Regions from separate parts of the Homo sapiens genome. Here all the other regions are linked to region 1. Evidence: promoter capture Hi-C in 16 types of primary human blood cells and fetal thymus (Javierre and others, 2016). All regions are on one chromosome and are shown on one strand. Each heading gives the region's core, a stretch centred on a gene start or on the middle of the fragment in contact. The rest is flanking DNA. Distances are from core to core; before and after follow the strand shown. Region 1 holds the start of GPR26 (G protein-coupled receptor 26). Region 2 overlaps LOC105378534 (a long non-coding RNA gene). Region 3 overlaps CPXM2 (carboxypeptidase X, M14 family member 2).

Region 1 (4,637 bases), core at 1,028-3,527:
CCAACATGCTGTCACTGAAGCAGAGATGGAGAGAGATGCCCATAATGGGCCCTTTTGAGCTGGTGTGAGCTGGCTTCAGAACTCCACTGTCTGCAGCTGTCAGTCACTCAGATAACTGTCAATGAGTGTCATCTGTGGACACACAGAGAAGAGAGGGAATCTTGTTTCTGCCCTCCTGACACCTCATTTCATGAGCATTTAATAAAGTTTGGATGTTTGTCCCCTCCAAATCTCATGTTGAAACATAATCCCCAATGTTGGAGGTGGGCCCTGGTGGGAGGCGAAGGCGATTGGATAATGGGGGCAGAGCCCTCATGAATGGGTTGGCACCATCCTGAATGACTTCTCAGTCCATGAGAGATATGGTGTTTAAAAGCCTGGGACCTCCCCCTTCTCTTTCTGGCTTTCACTCTTGCCATGTGACATGCCTGCTCCCACTTTGCCTTTTGCCATGATTAGAAGCTTCCTGAGGCCCTCATCAGAAGCTGAGCAGATGTTGGAGCCATGATTGCATACCTTGCAGAATCATGAGCCAATTCAACCTCTTTTCTTCATCAATTACCCAATCTCAGGTATTCCTTTACAGCAAAGAAAAATGGCACAATACAGCATCTACAATGTGCTTGGTACTATGTGAAGGAGATAATTAAGTATAATGAGGTCTCTACCTTCAGGGCGTAGAGTCCACCACGTCCTTGCTTGGCTTACTTTATCTAGTGGCTTGAGGCCCAGGAATGTCCAGTCACCACTGGCCACACCAGGAGGCTCCAGAACAGGGCTTTCTATGTCCAGGACAGGGATCTGAGGTTGCTGACATGGTGCAGGGGGTCACTGCAGGGCAGCATCTCACAGAGTTGAAGGGGGCTGCAGGGGTTCTGAGAGCTGCCCCTGCCTGTCCATCCCCACCCCTTCCCCACAGAGTCTTGGTTGAGAACCGAAGGGCCACAGTCCCTGCACACTTTGCTGAGGGGAGGCAGGGGTCCCCTGTGTCCAGGGTCTCTGTTGCTTGGACCATGCCTGCCAGCTGACACCCTCCCCATTTTCTGAAGAGTTCTGGCACCTTATATCAGGCAGGTCCCTCATAAACTAGAATGTGCTGCCTCACCAGTCTCAGGGCAGAGGGGTGTGTGGCTTCAGGGCTACAGGAGGCAGCTGCTGGAACTTGGAGCAGGACAACAGAGTATCCACCATACTAGGGTTAGCTGTCTAGGCTGGTTGTGGACAGCCTGGCTTGCCCAGGTGGGAGCAGTCAGGGTCAGCAAAGGCATCTCCCAGCTGGAGAGATGCCCAGGGGATGTTACAGAGAGCCTCGGGGTCCCTGCAGCAGGCTTAGGATTCAGCCGAAGCTCTGGCTGTAGGGCGAGGGAAAGAAGGCACTGAGAATCGAGTAACCTCAGTCATGCAGCAGCTGTTCTTGGGACAGACAGGCTGGGACACTCACGTCAAGGTCTGCCAGGATAGCATGCAGGCGGGGACAGGTGGCACTGGGGCGTGAAGGTGTCCAGGCATCCCTTCCTTTTCTCAGAGAGATTTCCTTGACTCAGCCTGTCTTTGACACACACGGGGGGATGGAGGATGTTGGGGGAAGGGAGCCACAGTGAGCCAATCACCCTGCACCGGAGCCTTCGGGGCTGGTTCCCTCCGAGCCTGTAAGTGTGAGTGTGTGTGCGCGAGTGTGTCTGTGTGTGCACCAGTGGGGATTTCTGTGATAGAAGCAGCCAGATTCCAGAGACAGAGAGAAGAGGAGGGGGAAGAACAAGAGAGGGGAGAAAATTGGGGGTGGGAGAGACAGACGGAGAGAACAGCGCGGGGGGCGGGGAGAGGGAGAGAGGTGGAGGGGAGAGCAGAGAGAGAGAGAGCGAGCCAGAGAGCAGAGAGGGAGGAAGAGAGAAAGCAAGAGAGCGGGAGGGTGCGCGGAGCGGAGCGGAGACAGAGCTCGCGGGCATGGGGTGAGAGCGGGAGGAAGCAGAGGCAGAGGCGGAGCAGGGGCGCAGGTGCCTGCAACCCAGGATCCCGGGGCGCTAAAGGCTTCGGGTTCTACCGCACGCTCAGTCGCTGGCTCCAGAGGTGCTGCTGGGGGCCAGGGTTCACTGCCGCGCGCCAGGTGCCTGCCCGTGAGGCGGCGCGGGGCTCCCGGGTGGCTGCGCGCCCAGACGCCTGCCCGGGAGGCCGCCTGAGGCTCCGGGGTGGCCGCGCGCCCTCCTGGGAGCCATGGCGGCTGGGGCCGGTGGTCGCCGGGCGGCGGCGGCGCCGAGGGGCTGAGCCGGCCGCGGGCAGCGCCATGGCGGCGCCGGGTTGCGGACCCTGAGCGCCGGCGCGGGGCGCGCACCATGAACTCGTGGGACGCGGGCCTGGCGGGGCTACTGGTGGGCACGATGGGCGTCTCGCTGCTGTCCAACGCGCTGGTGCTGCTCTGCCTGCTGCACAGCGCGGACATCCGCCGCCAGGCGCCGGCGCTCTTCACCCTGAACCTCACGTGCGGGAACCTGCTGTGCACCGTGGTCAACATGCCGCTCACGCTGGCCGGCGTCGTGGCGCAGCGGCAGCCGGCGGGCGACCGCCTGTGCCGCCTGGCTGCCTTCCTCGACACCTTCCTGGCTGCCAACTCCATGCTCAGCATGGCCGCGCTCAGCATCGACCGCTGGGTGGCCGTGGTCTTCCCGCTGAGCTACCGGGCCAAGATGCGCCTCCGCGACGCGGCGCTCATGGTGGCCTACACGTGGCTGCACGCGCTCACCTTCCCAGCCGCCGCGCTCGCCCTGTCCTGGCTCGGCTTCCACCAGCTGTACGCCTCGTGCACGCTGTGCAGCCGGCGGCCAGACGAGCGCCTGCGCTTCGCCGTCTTCACTGGCGCCTTCCACGCTCTCAGCTTCCTGCTCTCCTTCGTCGTGCTCTGCTGCACGTACCTCAAGGTGCTCAAGGTGGCCCGCTTCCATTGCAAGCGCATCGACGTGATCACCATGCAGACGCTGGTGCTGCTGGTGGACCTGCACCCCAGGTGAGCCGAGCGCAGCTAAGGCTCTGGGAACAGCCGCGCGGGATCTCGGCGGGAGTGGGAGGTCCCTAGCCCCAGGGGCTCTTTTCCACCGAGCCTCTGTTTCTTCTGAGAACTCGAGGGTGGGGAAAGCGGCCCAGCTGTGGGGCTTAAGGAGGTGCTTAGGGTATCAGCAAACCAGGGCCACAAAAAATGCGGGTGAGCCCATCTATACATCGGTTTTTGAAGCATCAGGGTAGAAATCACAGACAGTCAGAACTCTGTTGGGCTTCTTCATGCACATTTTCTGTGTTTGTAGCTTTCACTTTAAATGGCACATGGGAAGTCCGTGGTCTTTGTTCCCTATTAAAGACCTTCAAAGTGTTTGATTCTGGCCGAGAGGGCGGCCTCGATGCTTAGGGAGCTCCTTAAGAGCTTTTCAGACCCAAGTGTGTCGCTTCTCTGAGTCTTTCCCTTCTCGGGTGTGTGGCGCTGCCTCTGTCTCACGACTGTGTGTGTGTGTGTGTGTGTGTGTGTGTGTGTGTGTGTGAATTCTGATGGACTCGGGCTGCGTCCTTCTCTGTGGTGGGCCCTGAGGGGTGGGGTGGGGGGCTCTTCCTGCCCTCCCCAGAGAGCACTGTCCAATGTCTGCCTGACTTGGTGCCTAGAGGCTCCTGCAGAAGGAGTGTGCCCCAAGGCTCCTGGGGCTGAATCTGCCCCCACCTCCGTCGTCACGCTGGCTGCTGTTCTCAGGAGGGCAGATGGAGCTGGGCAAGCATGGGTACCCTCTGGGAACCCCTGCCATCGCAGGAGCCTGTCAGGGAGAGAAGGAGGGAACTCTTAGCTGCGCTGTCCTGAGCTCACCTCAGCTTTCCCCAGGAGAATAGGAAATCGAGGAGGGAAACAGCTGGCAGCGTCTGGACTCTGCTATTTTACATCCTGTTGTCCCAGGGGAAGGCAGGCTCCCTGCTCTGTGTCCTGGGACCCTAGATAAGGGGGTGCTGGGGTCCAGATGGTGTCGCAGGTGAGGCAGGCAGAGAGCTCTGACAGGGCCAGCGAGGGCCTTCCGTGTGGGAGAACCCTGGGAACCCAGGGGAGCCTCGGGGCAGAGGAAGCTCTATCCTCTGGTGGATATGTTCCACACCAGGGTTGAAGGGGACAGGCTGGAGGTGTCAGGCTGAGCATTCTGAGTATTTCCTGCACGAGAGCAGTAACAAGCAGTCCTTGACCTTCACAATGCCGACACATTGAAGGGCAAGTGTGCACGTGTTCATTGTCCCCCTGAGCACAGCCATTCCTGATTACACACTGGACCAATCTTCCAGCCACAGAATCCCCACAGATTCAGGAACAGAATGTACATGTGAGTGACTGAGAGCACATAGATACCAGGCCATGTAAACGTGGGAGCTCCACACACAATCTCATGTGTTCACACATAAACTGTATATGTACCAGACAGCTGGCCATGTGTACACAGGTTTACAGGAGTGACACGAGTGCATTCTGCCACAAAGACATACATTGGCTGTCACAGCACATGTCTCTGCATGGTTCAGTGTCCTTCAAGGAAATATTTGCAGCCACAGTTGCAGAGCTATTGCCCTTTCCATGACTCAGAGCTGAGAGGCTCTTCCTTAGAGGGTGCATCCTTAGCGCTTGG
Region 2 (4,637 bases), core at 842-3,341, 240 kb after region 1:
CCGCCACACAGCCTGGGAGCCGGGCCATTTGCAGGCAGTGCTTCCAGAATGAAAGGCCTTCCGCGAGCAGCTTGACTGCCCTGCTTGGATTCTGTGCTGGGATGGTGTGACCTTCTGATAAAGCCATGGTCTCAGATAGTGCAGCACAGGGACAGAGCACTGGACAAGGAGCCACTTTGGCTCTCGGGATGCCACTCTCTTTGCCTGAGGCTTTCAAGGCCTCAGCTGTCCCATCTGCCAATCCGGGCATTGGACAGATGACCCTGCCGTTTGAGCCCCTGACTTTTCTGATAAAGCTTGACCACAGCTCTGAAGCTTTCAGTCCAGGGCAGAGGATGCCAATGACCGAGGGATGGCCCAACCCAGCACAAGAGATTCCAGACCTCCTCTGGCCCCTGGGTCTAGGCTGCCTCCCACCTAATGTGACCGTACATTCCCACTGCTCCTTCCCACGCAGCTTCTCCCTATTCACGAAGCCGTCTCTGTGATGCCAGGGTCAGACCATCCTGGGGGTCCCCTCCCAGCCCTCTTGCCTGTAGTTTCTTCTGTTTCTCGCCTTCCTGCCTCCCACCCCACCCTCACCCAGTCATCCTCCATCTCCTGCGTTCTGACTCCTCACCCAGAAACGCTGCCTTTGCCATCTCCCCCTCAGGAGACACGCTCAAGCCCTGTGGTTTTTCCAGGCCACCTTGAGGCTGATGTCCAGAGCCCGAGCTCTGGCTCTCGGGTTCTATGTGAACAGGCCAAGCCCCACCTCCCGACGGTCTGTCCACTCTTCCTTCGGCCAGTGACGCCCAGGTACTGAAGTGGGGGCAGGTCATCCACATGGCCCGCACCTTTGCTCTCACATCCCACTGCCAGGCATAGCCTTGCCAGCTCCAGAAAGCCTCCCCCTGTCTGCTCCTGCACCCATCTCCCACTCCGGATCCCCAAGTCCATGCATTTCATCCCAGAAGTCCTCAGAAATGTGACCGAAGGGCAACATGGGCACACTACAGGCTAACCTCGTTCTTTAACCTTACTGAGCCTCTGTGTCCTGATCTATAAAATGAGACACTAATGTCTACCTAGAAGAGAGATGGAACCAAGGTGCTTCACAAAATGAAACGCTACGTAAATGTCAGGCCCAATGCTGAGTCAAGGCCAGCTCACTCCTCCTCCTCACCCACAGTAGCCTCCTCACTCTCATAGATACAGCACCTTTCTTCCAGACAGCTACGGGATCTTAATGGATCTGCCAAATCACTGTTCCCCAAACACCCTTGCTATAAATCATGTCAGCTTCACTCAGCTGCCTCTGAGGTTCTGAGCATGTGTGCATGATATTGGAATAAAATTTAAATTAAATCCAGAAGCTGCAACACTTCATAAAACTTAAACTGCAAATTCCTCACTGTGGAATGCCAAACTGAAAAAGTAATCAGAAATAAATACTTCATTTCGCCTCATGTGCCCTGAAGACCCCCAAACTTGGCTCCAAAAGATCTGGGGCCTTCCAAAGACAGGAAATCTATGCAAGAAACTTCTCACATGGCCTCAGGATTCAAGCCATCCCCATGCACTTTTAGGAGAGAAAGCAGAGTCCCAAACCAAGGACCAGGATGGAAAGCAACCCCCAAATTGTGCCGGATCAAGAGATTAGGGAGGATGTCTTTGCTGCTTTCCAGGTGGATGTCTGGCTGCCTCCCTTGCAATAACCAGCTCTTGTCTTCTTCAGGTGAAATTTCCAACTGCCCAGAAGCTGCCTGGTGGATGCCTGCTACCCATCTGAAGTTCACCTAAAGGATTTACGAGTTTCTGCCCTACAAGTTTGATGCAAAGTTCATGCTGAGAGGCACCTTAGGAAACACGAAGCACGGTGTGTGCATGTGTGTTCTAAATAGTAGAGTTTCCAGGAGGGCTTCCATCAGCACCGAGTGTTTACGAGAGACTGCCACAGCGGTGTGGTAGACATACCTGCTCCTGCTGCCAACACGATTTGCTAGTGTAATTAACATTCAGGCTGAAACTGGAGAAGGCAGTTCAACTCACAAAGACTATTTTTAGAGACCTCTTAATGGAAAACTCTGTTCCTTTCAAACCACACAGCTTTCTGTAATTAGAAGAGAGACTATTATTCAAGTCAGATTTTACTTTTTCTCACATTTCTGTGCTTTATGCAATGTTATCCTAAAACTGCATTTACTTGGGGAGGACAACACACAGAGAAGCGGCATCGCTGGGCGGGGCCCTCGCAGCGTCCTTACCCACCCTCCCGCAGCACAGGGAGGATGTGGTCACCAGCACAATCCCCCACCCCCACCCCAAGTCCCACCCTGACCCTACTGGGGATCACTTAGGTGACACGGCACCATCCTGTGCATTTTTCTCTTAGAAACTGGCTACAGGTTCCCCAAAAGCTCTGACATTTCTGGGGGATAGTTTAAAATGTGTCTTCTATCATTCCCATTACAGAAACATAGATGCCCCCCCTCCCACAAGTTCATTCATGTGCCCATCAAATAGCATCTCCTTGGTGCCAAGAAAGGGACTGGACCCCGCAAGGCGCCCACCCAGATGTACACTGAAGGCACCATCCCTGCCTTCATGGAGCTTATTTTCTAGTGTGGGGACTAGGGGGATTGTGCTAAACCAGGCAATACATCAGCAAAACATACAGAGCTTTTGATAAACATTTTAAAAAGAAAAAAGGAAGAGAGGGGAAGCAGGAGGAAGGAAGGGAGGGGGAGGAAAGGAAAAGGGGAAGAAGGAAATGAAAGAAGTGAGAAAGGAAGGGAGGAAGCAAGGACTCAATAGGAGACTTTAAACAGGGGAGAGATGTGACAAGGACCATATTCAGGATTGGGTAGAAAGTGGGGATGCTGGTAGACCAGTCTGGGGCTTGTGCAGGGGAGGGATAGTGGTGACTTGGGATGGGACAGGGACTGTGGAGAAGGGAAGAAGGGGACAGATTCAAGTCCACTGTTAGGGGTAGCACCAGTAGGACGTCCTGGAGTGGCCGCAGGTGGGAAGGAGAGAGGAGGAAAGGATGGGGTGGGGGCTTGTGCAGGGGACTTCTGCTGGAGAAAGACTAGGAAGTGAGAACACTTAGATTCCAAAGGCTACAGCTTGAGCAGCAGCTATTGACAAGAGACTCTCTGCTAAGGCCAAATGCAGAAACCATCCTGTTTGCAGATAAGCCAGATCACCTGCAAGTTTCTTCATTCGATCACTCAATCAGAAAATACTGGCTGAGCTCATGCCAGAGCCAGACCCCGGGCAGGTTCTGGGAAGTCGGCCACAAGGACTCAATCTGCAGCCTAGTAGGGAGACAGACATGCAGATGAGGACCACCCTCCCAGGAGGTCAAGGCTACCATGGAGGGCTCGGGGCAAGGAGACAGGTGTGGGGAGAGGGGCCACCTGGTCCATCTGCTTGGGGTACCAGGAATGGCTGCACAGGGACCAGACAACTGAGCAGAGTTCTCCAGAACAGCTGGAGGTGGGCAGGATCTATCCATGTGTTCAAGTTCACTGCAGCTTTAAACAGCCATGAGGTTTTTAATGGCAGAAGGGCACTGGAGACCTTCTGCAGTGAAGAAAATATTCCATATCATGGTTCAGGTACACATTATACATTTGTTAAATGTACAATCTATAAATCAGCAGTGTACAATCAACAAACTGTACACTTTACATCTAATTCACTCTATGTAAATTTTGCTAACAGTACCTTATATCTTCAATTAAAAAAAAAGATTTAAAGCTGTAAACACAAGCCAGGAGGCTCATTGTTAACTCTCACTAAATTTAAGTGAATACTTTGTAATAACCTAATGCATTGACTTGACCTTTTAAGAGGCAATTCTGCCCTTTTGAAGCTGTAGGTTCAAGCTTTTGGCTGGGCACAGGCACACTCTGCCATCAACCTCAGGCATAGCGGATCCCACACAAGACAGTATAAGAGCAGGATTCGTGTAGCTCGGGACACGGGCTTCCCTCCACCCTGAGGTTCAGCGTCCAGGAAAGATCTCCAGAAAGTACACTACCAGCCCACATCCCACCTGTAACAGGTCTTCAGGGCCTGCAGGGGGGACTCGCCCTCAGCAAGTCCACCTCCTGAATCCTATGTTTCTATAAATCCCGATTGCAGTCCACACAAGGCTTAATTTTTTTTCTTTAAAGAACACTCTTTGCCAAAATCTGTGTTGAGTAATTAACTAGTGCCATGCCCAGCAAGGGAAAGCAGCTGTATAATTTATATTCCACAAGGCTCCACCTGACAAGCGGAAGCCCGGCCAGGCGCTGCTTTCCTTCAGCCCTGCATTGGGTTCTAATTGTGTTCACCCAGGCTGCTCATGTTTGCTGGGCCGTTCAAAGCCTCCAGAATATTTCTCTTTCCATTGTACGGTACTAAATCTTTGTCAACACTTCTCCAAATGCAGAAGTTGACAGTCAGCCCTCAATGACTCAAATGGAAAGCTAGTAAAAGCTCCCAAAGGAACATCTTTCAACAAGTCATAATGCTTTCATAAAATGAAGGCAGGATAACTATAACCACTCTCCTCTTCCTGTCATGTTCTCTCAAAGCAGAGACAATGGAGGTGATTTGGGGCTTCCTCAGTGTCCAGGAACAGTATCAGTCATGTGTTCACCCAT
Region 3 (4,637 bases), core at 1,230-3,729, 220 kb after region 1:
AGAACTTCTTACCAAAACTAGACCAAAATCAATCAATCAAACAATCCATCAAAATCCCATGGCCCATCTCTCTCTCTCTCTTTCTCTCTCTGTCTCTCTTTCTCTCTCTCTCCATTGTGTCTTCTCTGGGATACCTGCCTGGTCAGTCCCACCCTCCTCTGGGCCAGCCTTTCATGCAGAAGACCTGGCCTCAGATCTGGGCATAAGGAAGAGTGGGCATGGCTGGGGCAGCAGTGCCCTGTGGCCCCCACTCTTGCCCTCTGTGCAGCCAGCAGCCACCTTTCTGACTTGCAACCAAATAGAGTCCTTTGCCTTTAAAGAGACACCCTGGTAACAGCAGCAGGTGGGTGTGTGCAGACACTGTGCAGGGAGCTGTTGGTACCTGCCAGTCTCATCTTAGATTCCACCTGGAAACAGCCTGAGACAAGAAGGCTTTGGGCACAGTGCTGTATGTGGGAGGAGATTTCAAGTAGCACAGGTGAAAAGTTGAAGGGGAAACACCAATAACTCAGGCTGTGTTGTCTGGCAGGACTCAACGGGGACTCAACCTGGCTGGGGACTCAGGGTGGGGTTGGGAGGGGAGATGCCTCTGAGCTGCCCCACTCCGGAGGCTGGGAGGCTAGAAGGCTGGGAGGCTGGGAGGCTGGAAGGCTGGGCATTGACCCCTCCAATCGTACACCTCCTCCAAAAGCTCGGGTTATTAATTGTTCCCATGCCATCGTGAGGAACTGATGCTTGGAGAAGTCACAAATGCCCATGAGTGGCAGAACCAGACTTTGACCTCAGCTCTCTCTTCATCCTGGAAAAACTCACCATGGAGCACCTACCTGTGCCTAGCATGAACCAGGCATTCCATACAAATCTGTGACATCAGGGGCTTAAATTAACATGTGAAGCTGTTTTGTGCCATGCTAACCATCCTATGATGCCCAACGAGTAGCCAGCTGGCTGCCAGCCAGATGTGGATGCCAGCCCTTCCAGTGGCCATCCAAAGAAACCCTAATTTCCTGGGTTTTGTGACCCCAGAGTGGTAGCTGCAGTGGCTGGGGCCTGAGAGGGCCACAGAGGGCAGAGCCATTGCTGGAGATGCCAAGCCTGAATGCTCAGGCTCCCTGGACCCTCAGGGACATCCAGAGAAAACCTCCACCTCAAAAGTCAAGGCTCCAGGGCCAGGCTGCCATTGTCCCCACACTAAAGGTGCCATGAGCTCTAGCAGCCATGGACACTTGAGGCATACAGAAAACACAGTGGCTATTTTTAAGAACCACAGCATGCAGTCCAGCTTTCGCAAACGTGGGTGTGTCCTCCTTTATTATCCATGCGCGAGCCCTGGTTTCTGGAACCTTGGGCACAGGCAAGAGGAAATTTGCCAGCATTAATAGTTGACTTTGGAAAGCATTTTGGAAATGGAGGTGGTGTCTTAGAAAGCTGCTTGCTAATGTACAGGAAATGACGTCCTCTCCCTTGGAATTCTATAGGGAGTTTACCTGGACAAAACACTTTGGATTTAACTCTTAAAGTAAGCATATAATTTGACATGAAGGATTGCTTGTTAATTGTTTAGGTATGCTAATAGCATTGTGATTGCTTTTTAAAGTACTTATTGAAATATTTACAAACACAGCTTCCTAATCCTTACACACTCCCATTTTGCCCAGGAGAAGACATTTCCATCCAAAAGCCAAATGCAGCAAAACACACTGAAAAGAGAAGGAAAGCTTAAATGTGAAGCCCTTTTCACCAACTGGCTTACGGCACACACAACAGAAAAGGCTTTGTTTACAACCAAATATGCTCAAAGAACAACTCTTTGGTTATTTCCCCCTGCAACTGGGGCCCAGCACAGTACAAAATGCAAACTCAATGATTCTGAGCACAGACACACAAACAAACGTGGCTCGCTGCCCCCTCTGCAAATTCCACGGGCTCAAGACTATGGCGATGATGTGGGTTTGTCCACATTCAAACAGCGGTGCATTCTCACCAGCACAGGAAGAAAGTTATGAACAAAGGACCAAGCAGAAACTCAAATTTAAAGACTACATATCCAAGCCTACTTCTAACCCAATGTGCAATGAAGAGAGAAATAAATAAAATCTTCAAATCCCTCATTCAAATCAATAGTTCAGCTTATTATTTGATTTGATTGTTACTGCCAAGTGGGAGGAAAAGGATAAGTTCTATAACTATGGTTTATTTTTCTGTTCTATTTTATTCTTCAAAAGGAATATGGCTGCAAACCAGGGTCATCAATTTGAAGATGGCATGGAAAGTAAGACACCCCCAAATCCACTTGCACGTGCAAAATGTGGCCCCTTACCTTATTCATAACCCTGGGAGAATGAAAACTGAGGACCTGAGATTCACTCCCGTGGCCTTAAATCATTCCAACTGCAGGGATCTAGAAACTGTCAAATTCAATTCGAAACAGCTAAATAAATGGAATTAGAGAGCAGAACGTTGTCAAGTTCATATGAGGAAGAACATTCTAGCAATAAGTACTCTTCATCCACTGAATGGTGAGAGTCCATCCATGGAAGCCTGTGAGCAGAGGCCGGGCAGCTCACTGTTAGAATCTCGCAATAAGCAAGAATCTGTGCTCAGTGTCCACTTAGGTCCTTAGAGTTCTAAAATTCTCGGATGGATGAGTGTTCACAATGAGGACCTCAGAAACTGTACAGTACCAAAATCCTACTGCAACCTAAGAAAAAGATTCTACGGTTCCATATCCTGACAGTGGTGGTGGTTCCATGAACCTGTACATGTGATAAAAACTACAGAGAACATGCCTACAAATGCATGTAAGAACTGGTCAAATCTGAGTAAGGCATGTAATCTAGTTAACAGTATCACTGTCAACCTCCTCATTTTGATACTGTATACAACAGTGACTCCCATCCCCCTGGGGATATTTGGCAATGTCTGGAGACATTTTTGGTTGTGACAACAGGGGGGAGGGTGCTACTGGCATCCAATTTGGAGTCCAGGGACACTGCTAAACATCCTGCAATACACAGGAAGGCAACCCCCTTCCTCCTCTGTTGGCACGTACACACAACACACACACACACATACACAAACAAACACACAATTGGCCCAAAACATCAATCCTGCCAAGATTGAAGTATCTTGTACTAGAATCATCTAAGAGGTTATCACTGGGGGGAGCTGACAAAGCGTACATGGGGCCTCAGTGTACTATTTTTGCAATTTCCTGTGAGTTTATAATTATTTCAAAATAAAAGCTTAAATAAATGTTTTTAAAGATTCCATTCTGTTTAATATATTGGGGCTCTACTTCTCTGGAAACCTGTTAGCCACTCATGGAAAATGCAATACTCTCAGTTAGCCAAAGGGTTCAGTTCTCCAAGCATCTCCATGAATGTCAGCATGTCACACCCATTGGGCATTTCTGTGGTGGTGCGAAAGAACAGCCAATGGTCAAAGCCAGAACCCACATCAAGATCAAATCCCCAATGCCCTTGGCTCCTTGCATAAACCCCGCTACAGGGTTAAAACAGGGCTCCCTCCTAGGGCCTACCACATAGAAAATCTGCCTGTGTGGGGAATCACTGCTGAATACATCTTTCCTTGCACTCACCTTTATGCAAAACAAGAGCTATCTGGGAAATATTTTATCATCTGCAAAGATAAAGTACATATAGACTTTTAATTAGTTATATATGCTTTTATACTGTTATGCATCTCTAAATTGAACCCCTCACTCCCACCTCAGTGCCTCATACATAGCATTGCATCATCCACCCAGTGAAGCAAAGTACAGAAGTTTGCATTAAACACTCCAGGCCACAGTCCAATGTTCCTTCCTATGTAAGTGCCTTCCTAAGATATTCCAAAACAATCCAATGCAGAGATAAGTGCTTCTATTACACCACGAGCAGCATATAGATCAAGCCGCTACTTAAAGTAGAAAAAAAATAATTTTCTCCTAGTGTAGTTTAACTGCACAAAACTGTCACTGATTCCCCTAACTAAGTTCACGCTTAAACCAGTCTTCCCACTTTGGTCCAGGGCAGAGGATTCTGCTGAGCAAACACCAAAATAAAAAAGGACAGGAGTTAAAAATATGAGATAAATGTCACACTTGTCTTGTCATGGTTGGGGAGAGCTCTAAAAAAGCCCCACAGAATTCATTAGAAACACAGCTGACATGGTAGCAGGTCTGCAGGCAGCTGTCCCAACAGGCCTCTGATGTGAGTCTCTAGATCTTCCGAAGACGTGTTTTCAGTATGGGGCTTGGAGATCCCGGTGGATGCCAGGGCTGCGGTGAACTGGGCAATGTGTCCTGCAGGAGCAGAGGCTAGGCACCGAATCAACAGGCTCCCCCATGGCCTGTCTCTACCTGCAAGATGGCCTTCCAAAACCAAATGAGCTTTTTCTTGCAAATTCAGGTTACACTCTGATTTCTCCTCCAGAGACCCCATTCCAAGAGTGGCAAGAGCTGTTTCTCCAAGGACTAAAGAGAGTCACTTCCCCATGTAACCCCTGAGTCTGCAGACACATTAGTCTGTGGACACTGCTCAGGCCAGGCTGTGACTTTCTGAGATGTGTTTTGTAGGGAAAGAAACCTATCTTAGGAATGATGTCCGGTCACTTGTACGAGTCCCCAGGACAAT

Evidence for each region. Contacts are between HindIII fragments. The CHiCAGO score rates a contact against its expected background, and 5 or more counts as called.
Region 2: a fragment that was not itself captured here is called in contact with the fragment with the promoter of GPR26 in region 1 in 1 of 17 cell types (endothelial precursors); the score reaches 6.3 in endothelial precursors.
Region 3: a contact is called between a fragment that was not itself captured here and the fragment with the promoter of GPR26 in region 1, in 1 of 17 cell types (endothelial precursors). The highest score is 6.3, in endothelial precursors.

What each region holds. Positions count from the first base shown.
Region 1 is chr10:123,664,078-123,668,714 of GRCh38, forward strand. It overlaps GPR26 (G protein-coupled receptor 26), which reads left to right and starts at 2,278. Exons shown (of 3, transcript NM_153442.4): 1 at 2,278-2,998. The coding sequence starts at 2,331. RefSeq lists enhancers at 1,486-2,023, 2,024-2,562, 2,563-3,100. The HindIII fragment of the contact is 9,100 bases long and covers 461-4,637 here.
Region 2 is chr10:123,905,221-123,909,857 of GRCh38, forward strand. It overlaps LOC105378534 (a long non-coding RNA gene), which reads left to right. Exons shown (of 3, transcript XR_001747622.2): 3 at 1,718-3,747. It also overlaps a transcript of CPXM2 not described here. Among named protein-coding and RNA genes, the nearest start is that of CPXM2, 16 kb to the left of the region's middle. The HindIII fragment of the contact is 3,557 bases long and covers 314-3,870 here.
Region 3 is chr10:123,884,649-123,889,285 of GRCh38, forward strand. All of the region lies in intron 1 of CPXM2 (carboxypeptidase X, M14 family member 2), which reads right to left. Among named protein-coding and RNA genes, the nearest start is that of CPXM2, 4.8 kb to the right of the region's middle. The HindIII fragment of the contact is 1,527 bases long and covers 1,717-3,243 here.